Regions from separate parts of the Homo sapiens genome. Here region 2 is linked to region 1. The links are contacts of gene promoters, found by promoter capture Hi-C in blood cells and fetal thymus (Javierre and others, 2016). All regions are on one chromosome and are shown on one strand. The core of a region is centred on a gene start or on the middle of the fragment in contact, and the rest is flanking DNA. Distances in the headings are between cores, read along the strand shown.

The links. Contacts are between HindIII fragments. The CHiCAGO score rates a contact against its expected background, and 5 or more counts as called.
Region 2: a contact is called between a fragment that was not itself captured here and the fragment with the promoter of OTUD5 in region 1, in 1 of 17 cell types (neutrophils). The highest score is 5.6, in neutrophils.

Annotation. Positions count from the first base shown.
Region 1 is chrX:48,955,935-48,959,186 of GRCh38, forward strand. It overlaps OTUD5 (OTU deubiquitinase 5), which reads right to left and starts at 1,673. Exons shown (of 9, transcript NM_001136157.2): 1 at 1,043-1,673. The coding sequence starts at 1,636. It also overlaps the pseudogene RNU6-722P. RefSeq lists silencers at 1,290-1,349, 1,720-1,769, 1,970-2,129 and an enhancer at 2,230-2,419. The HindIII fragment of the contact is 4,109 bases long and covers 348-3,252 here.
Region 2 is chrX:47,653,246-47,656,440 of GRCh38, forward strand. All of the region lies in intron 5 of UXT (ubiquitously expressed prefoldin like chaperone), which reads right to left. Among named protein-coding and RNA genes, the nearest start is that of UXT-AS1, 4.0 kb to the right of the region's middle. The HindIII fragment of the contact is 1,824 bases long and covers 777-2,600 here.

The DNA.
Region 1 (3,252 bases), core at 423-2,922:
CCCTGAAGAGGCCTCAGACTCGGTCTCTAAAAACCTCAGTCCATAAGCAGGTGGATCTTAGGCCCTAGGATCCAACGCTGTGAGTCTCATTTTCCTGAAGAAAGGTTCAGGCCCCTGGTGGGGGTGCTGAGGGCCCATCTCTTCTTACAAGAAGCTTAAGATCCTGAAGCGGTTCAGGCCCTTGTCTCCCAAGAGGTAGGTCTCAGGCCACTGATAGGAAATGCAGACCTTTGTCACTCAGAAAGGAGATAAGTAAAGCTGCTGGTCATTGGGTGTTGGTTTTGGTCCCTGTCCCCAAGGGCAAGGGAATCATATCTCCCTGTGAAAAGTCTTACATCCCTGGAAAAAGCTTAGAAGATCCCTATCCTTAAAGGGGGCGTGTGTGTGTGTGTGTGTGTCAGGACCTTGATTCTAGAAGCAGGACTCTCAGGCCCCTGAAGACAGACTTAGGACCCTTGAGGTCTCAGGTCTGGCTATTCAGTGGTCCTGTGCAGTGTTACCCAGCGAAGCGGGAGAGGATTGTCCTATATGCAGAGTGTCTCAGACTCTTGAAAGGGCTTAGGCTCCTTGGGGATGTTCAGCCCCGATCTCCGAGGTCTCCACCTTATTTGACTTTCCTGGAAGGGGAATCTCAAACTTCTATCCCAGAGGAAAAGAGCTCTTAAGCCACTGAACACATACCTAAGTCTCTTGGGAGACCTGAGACTCCTACTCAAGAGGGGCGCGATCCTACCTGTATCTCTTGGAGAATTCCCACCTATTGGCCCTATATGATGAGGTCCCAGGGACTGGAATGACGACTATAGACCTTAAAAGAGACCTCGGATCTTTAAGTCTGACACCTTACCGTAGGCCTCTAGCCCCAAAATCCTGGAGGGGAGGAAAGAAGGTGTCTCACATCCCTACCGCCAGAGAAGACTGTCAGGCCCAGTGAAAACGCCTAGATCCCTTGGGGCGATCTCAAACAGCCTTCCTTGAGTCCCTTCACAGTCTGGGGGTCCCATCTGCCGTGGCCGCTCACCCCTCACCCCACAGCTCTTACCTGCTCGACAGTGGCAGGGTCCATAGCCTCGATGCGTGCTGCAGCCGCCTCATACTCGTCCTCACTGTTGTAGCCTGCGCCGACCTCCTCACGCTCGGGACTGCCCCCGCCAACCGCGCCAACCCCGGGAGCTTGACGTCGCCGCTTGCTGTGCCCAGGCCCGGAGCAGCAGCCGCCCACGCCTACGGCACCACCCACACCCACCACCACGCCCGCGGCACCCACACCCGCCGCCGCTGCGCCCAGCGCGTCGCCGGGACCGCCGCCGGGACCACCTGGGCCCCCGCAAGGAGGTGGAGAAGCCTGTTGTGGCCGGGGACCCGCCACTGCACCAGGCGGCACGGCCAGCGCCCAGCGATGAAGAGCGCCCGGCGGTCCTGGTAGCGGGCCTTGAGGCGGTGGCGAAGCTCGCGGACGGGCCCCCACGACGCCGGAGTCACGGTCGCGATCGCCGCCGCCCACGCCCGTGCCGCCGCCGCCCACGCCCACACCTCCGCCGCGCCGCGGCGCCGGGGGCATCGGCCCGGGCGGCGGCGGCTCGTTGGCGGGGTCGGCGTCGGGAGGCGGCGGCTTCTTTTTGGGGAGTATAGTCATGGCTGCACTGCCGAGTACCCCCCAACAAACCCGGCGCGGGGCACGCCGGGAGAGAACCCGGATGAGGGGGCTAGTGTAGTGCGCGAGGCACGACGGGAACGGCGAGACCCGGATAAAGGGATCGCGGCACCGGTTCGAGAACCCTCGGCGGCGGAGGAGGCGGCGGCGGCGGCGGCGGCGGTGGCGGCGCGCGGGTCACGCCGAGAGGAGAACCCGGATGTAAAGTCCAAGATGAAGGCAGTGCGGCGAGTTTGTCTTAGCCTTCTCTCCAAGTCCAGCAAGTTTATTGCTACGCTTGTTCCGGCCTTCTGCTTCAAAGGAAACAGAACCAAAACAAGCACCTCTTCGCTCCGCCCCCTCGCAGGTTCTTGCACTACCGGGTGGGGCCCCGGGGCGCTGCGCACGCGCGCCAGGGCACAGCCCCGCCCCTTACTCGGAAGTACGTGGGCAAAATCGCCGCCGCCGCCGCCACAACAATTGCAACACCAACCAATTGAGCAGCTGCGTGGGACCTCGACGACGCCCACGGGCCAATCACAGGCGAGTGCTCGCCCTCCGGTGCCCTCCGTCTCAAATTTCAGTCAAAGTCGACACCCTGGTTCCCAGCCTTTCTCCCCGTCAGTTCCGTCTTGCTCTTCACTTTTCTCCCCGAAGCTCTGACCTGCAGGCGTCGGTACTGCGGACGGACAGCGTGGCCTGTCCCACGTACGACAGGAAAAACACCTCCCCTCCAGGATTCCAACTTGAACGCTGTCAGCCGGAATGACTGGAAAACATCAACACTCCCGGGAGCATAGCTGGCCCCTGTAGCGTCACTTCCGGTCCCACCCACCTACAAATACCCTTCCGGGGGAGGCGGACACCGCTTCGCCCCGGCAACAGCCTGAGTTCTGCGGTGATTGGTTAAGAGACGCCGTCACTCGCGGCATACCGACCAACCTTGGGACAGACAGGCGCCGTGGGGACAGTGGTTGTTTGGGAAACAGACACGCCTTCTCTGGCACCACAGCACTCTCGGCCTCGCGTTGACCTCCCCGCCCCTATGGCTAGTGCGCAGGCGCGGCCCAGCCTTTTTTTTTTTTTTTTTTTTTTTTTTTCCTAATTGAGACAGGGGTCTCACTCTGTCGCCCAGGTTGGAATGCAGTGGCGCGATCATAGCTCACTGCAAACTCCAACTCCCAGGTTCAAGCGATCCTCCCGCCTCAGCCTCCCGAATAGCTGGGACCACAGGCGCGCACCACTACGACCGGCTAATTTTTTTTTCACTTTTTTGTAGGGACAAAGTCTCACTATGTTGCCCAGGCTGATCTCCAGCTCCCGGGCTCAAGCGATCCTCCCGCCTCGGCTTCCCAGAGTGCTGGGATTACAGGCGTTAGTCACCGCGCCTGGCCAAGCCCAGCCTTTTTCTAAAACTGAGTTTGCTTGGGTCGATCGAGGTTTATGAAAGCTCTGTCACCAGTCAGCGTCTCAAAATGGGGTTGGCAGAATCCCTGCTATTGAGTAGCTGGAGAGCTACACGCTAATCCTAGCTCTGCCCTTCCTGTCTGAGTGATCTTTGTCAGTCATTTAAAACCCACCCCGTCCTCAATTTTTGTTGTTGTTGTTTACTTTTTTAT
Region 2 (3,195 bases), core at 439-2,938, 1.3 Mb before region 1:
AAAGCAGAGAGCAATAAGATAGGATGTTAAATTGGAAAAAAAAGTAGTATGAACCCATGTATATACCAATATCTCCCACATTTTTATTTCTAGCCCAGAACTCTCTCCTGAACTTGACTAGTTTTAATGACATCTTCTAAAAATCCACTTCAGTGTTTAATAAGTGCCTCATACTTAACAGGTTCCAGACTAAATTCCTGACCTTCCCCTCCAAATCTACTCCTCCCCTAACTTCTCCATCTCAGATAATGGCAACTCCATCCCTCCAGTTGCTCAGCCAAAAACCTGGGCTCCTCTCTCTCACACTTCACATCCAGTCAGCCATTCTTCTTAAAATCATGACTGTTCCATTGCAGGTAATGCTTCTGATCTCCATGATATGCTTTCTCCATAGCACTGTCAACATCTGACATACTACATCATTCATTTGTTTATTGTTTGTCTCCCCTGACTAGAATGTCAGCTGTATGAGGGCAGATTTTGTTTTTTTTTGTTTCCTGCTCTATCCCCAGGGACCAGAACAGTGTGTGGCACAGAGGAGGCACCCAACGTATGTTGAATGAATAAGTGACTACTCCATTAAAAGGAACCTGAGGTTGGCTGAGTGTATGTTTAGGGACAGGAAATAAATGAAGTATGGGTGTTGTTGCCAGAGAGCAAGAATACTTTCAAGAATATTCTGGGGGTAATGCTTAAAGAACAGAAGAATGAACCTGATCAGCTCCTAAGGGACAATTTTAACATCAAAAAAGAGAACAAAATTAGTTAATGGTGTAAGCTTACCTTATGAAAACCTATGAGTTCAACACTTTAAAAGGGAGAAAAATACAGAGTTCACCAAATGCTAGCTGTAACACAAAAGGGATATGTTTATTACTGCTGATTTATTTTTATTTGCTATGTGAGAAGCAAATTACTACTGATTTAGTATGTAAGGCAGTGTGAATAGTCATATGGTTATGCTTTTTTTTTTTTTTTTGAGATGGAGTCTCACTGTGTCGCCCAGGCTGGAGTGCAGTGGCGTGATCTCGGCTCACTGCAACCTCCACCCTCCGAGTTCAAGCGATTCTCCTGCCTCAGCCTCCTAAGTAGCTGGGATTACAGGCGCCTGCCACCGTTCCCGGCTAATTTTTTGTATTTTTAGTAGAGACGGGGTTTCACTATCTTGGACAGGCTGGTCTTGAACTCCTGACCTCGTGATCCACCCACCTCGGCCTCCCAAAGTGCTGGGATTACAGGTGTGAGCCACCGCGCCCGGCCGTTAGGCTGTTTCTTCTATAATTACATGTCTATTCATGAGATGTGGATGTGTACTCCTTTCTGTGTCATCAGGAAAGAATATAGAGATTTCATCCCTTCCACTTCCCAAACAAAGAAATATACTAAGAACAGGAAGAACTGACACTTTTGATCACATAAAATGACCAGAAAGTTAGTTCAAAGTATATCCCAAGTAACCAAATATTTTTAAAGGACAGCCAGCTACATAGACTCAAATCTTCATCTCTTAGAAAAATTAAACTTCTAGACAGTCCTACTAATTACAATAAAGCAGTAAGACTCAACCATATTTTTCATCACACTAACAGACCAGGTCAGTACATCAAAAAGACCAGGCAAGGGGGCAGGCACTGACAATTTAAATACTTCATTTTGGGGAAGTACGTGGAGTCTCAAAACATTAAAATCTATTTGATAGGCTCAGGAATCCTGTGACATAACAAGGAAAGCCTTCTTATACAAACTAGACTTTAGCTGGGCGCGGTAGCTCACACCTGCAATCCCAGCACTTAGGGAGGCTGAGGTGGGCAGATCATCTGAGGTCGGAGTTTGAGACCAGCCTGGCCAACATGGCAAAACCCTGTCTCTACTAAAAATACAAAAATTAGTCGGGAGTGGTGGTGGGTGCCTGTAGTCCCAGCTACTTGGGAGGCTGAGGCAGGAGAATCCCTTAAGCCCAGGAGGCAGAGGTTGCAGTGAGCCAAGATCGCACCACTGCACTCCAGCCTGGGCGACAAGAGCAAAATTCCGTCTCAAAAACAAAGTGGACTTGGTCTAAATGACCACCAGTTCAGAATTGTGTTGACCATGAAAGCAGGCCGTTTAATTAAACTATTTGCTAATTGGTCTGAACACCAAGAATCAGAAATCTCAGCAGGTCTGAGGTTCTTTTGGGTCCACTAGCACCTGCTAGTCCTTCCCATGGCTGGAAAGGTTTGAAAAGATAAAAATTACTGAAACTCTAAGGGAGGCAACTCTGGAAAAAATGAATGTAGAACAGACATAAACACAAAACACAACCAACAAAGAAGTTTAAATCAATGGTACTCACACTTGTGAGATGTTGTTAATCTAAGTGTATTGCTCAGTGCCCCCATGCTCATTCCATTGAAACCAAGCTCACCTCTCTTGGTAGTTTCACTAGCATACCAGGCACACTATTCCTCTTGCCAGGAATGCTCTTCGCCAGATAGCCCCATGGCTTTGTCACTCAGTCAAATGATTCAAATGTCCCTTCCTCTGGGAGGCCTTCCCTAGCTACATTTCAAATCCCTCATCTATGCTCCCAACTGCCCTTCCCTGCACAAAACCGTAAATCAAGCTTGTCCAACCTGCAACCAGTGGGCCACATGCGGTCCAGGACGGCTTTGAATGCAGCCCAACACAAATTCATAAACTTTCTTAAAACATTATGTGATTTTTTTTTGCAACTTTTTTATTTTAGCTCATCAGCTATCATTAGCATTAGTGTATTTTATGTATGGCCCAAGACAAATCTCCCAATGTGGCCCACGGAAACCAAAAGATTGGACACTCCTGCCTTAAACTCAACTGGAGCCCACATTTTCTCTCCCCATCACCCCCAACACAGATCTGCTTCAATAACCACTTTAATATGCTTCCAGCATACCCTTTCAAATTATTTCAACAAACACAAAGCCGGGTACAGCAGTGCGCCTGTAGTCCCAGTTACTTGGCAGGCTGAAGCAAGGGGATTGCTTGAGCCCAGGAGTTTGAGGATGTAGTATGCTATGATCGCAGCTGTAAACAGTCACTGCATTCCAGCCTGGGCAACACAGCGAGACACCATCTCTTAAAAACAAAAACACAGAGTGTCTACTATATGCTTGTACTACTCTAGTCACCTGGGTATAAGGGAATAAACCAAATCTCCCCCTTTGTAAAACTTACATT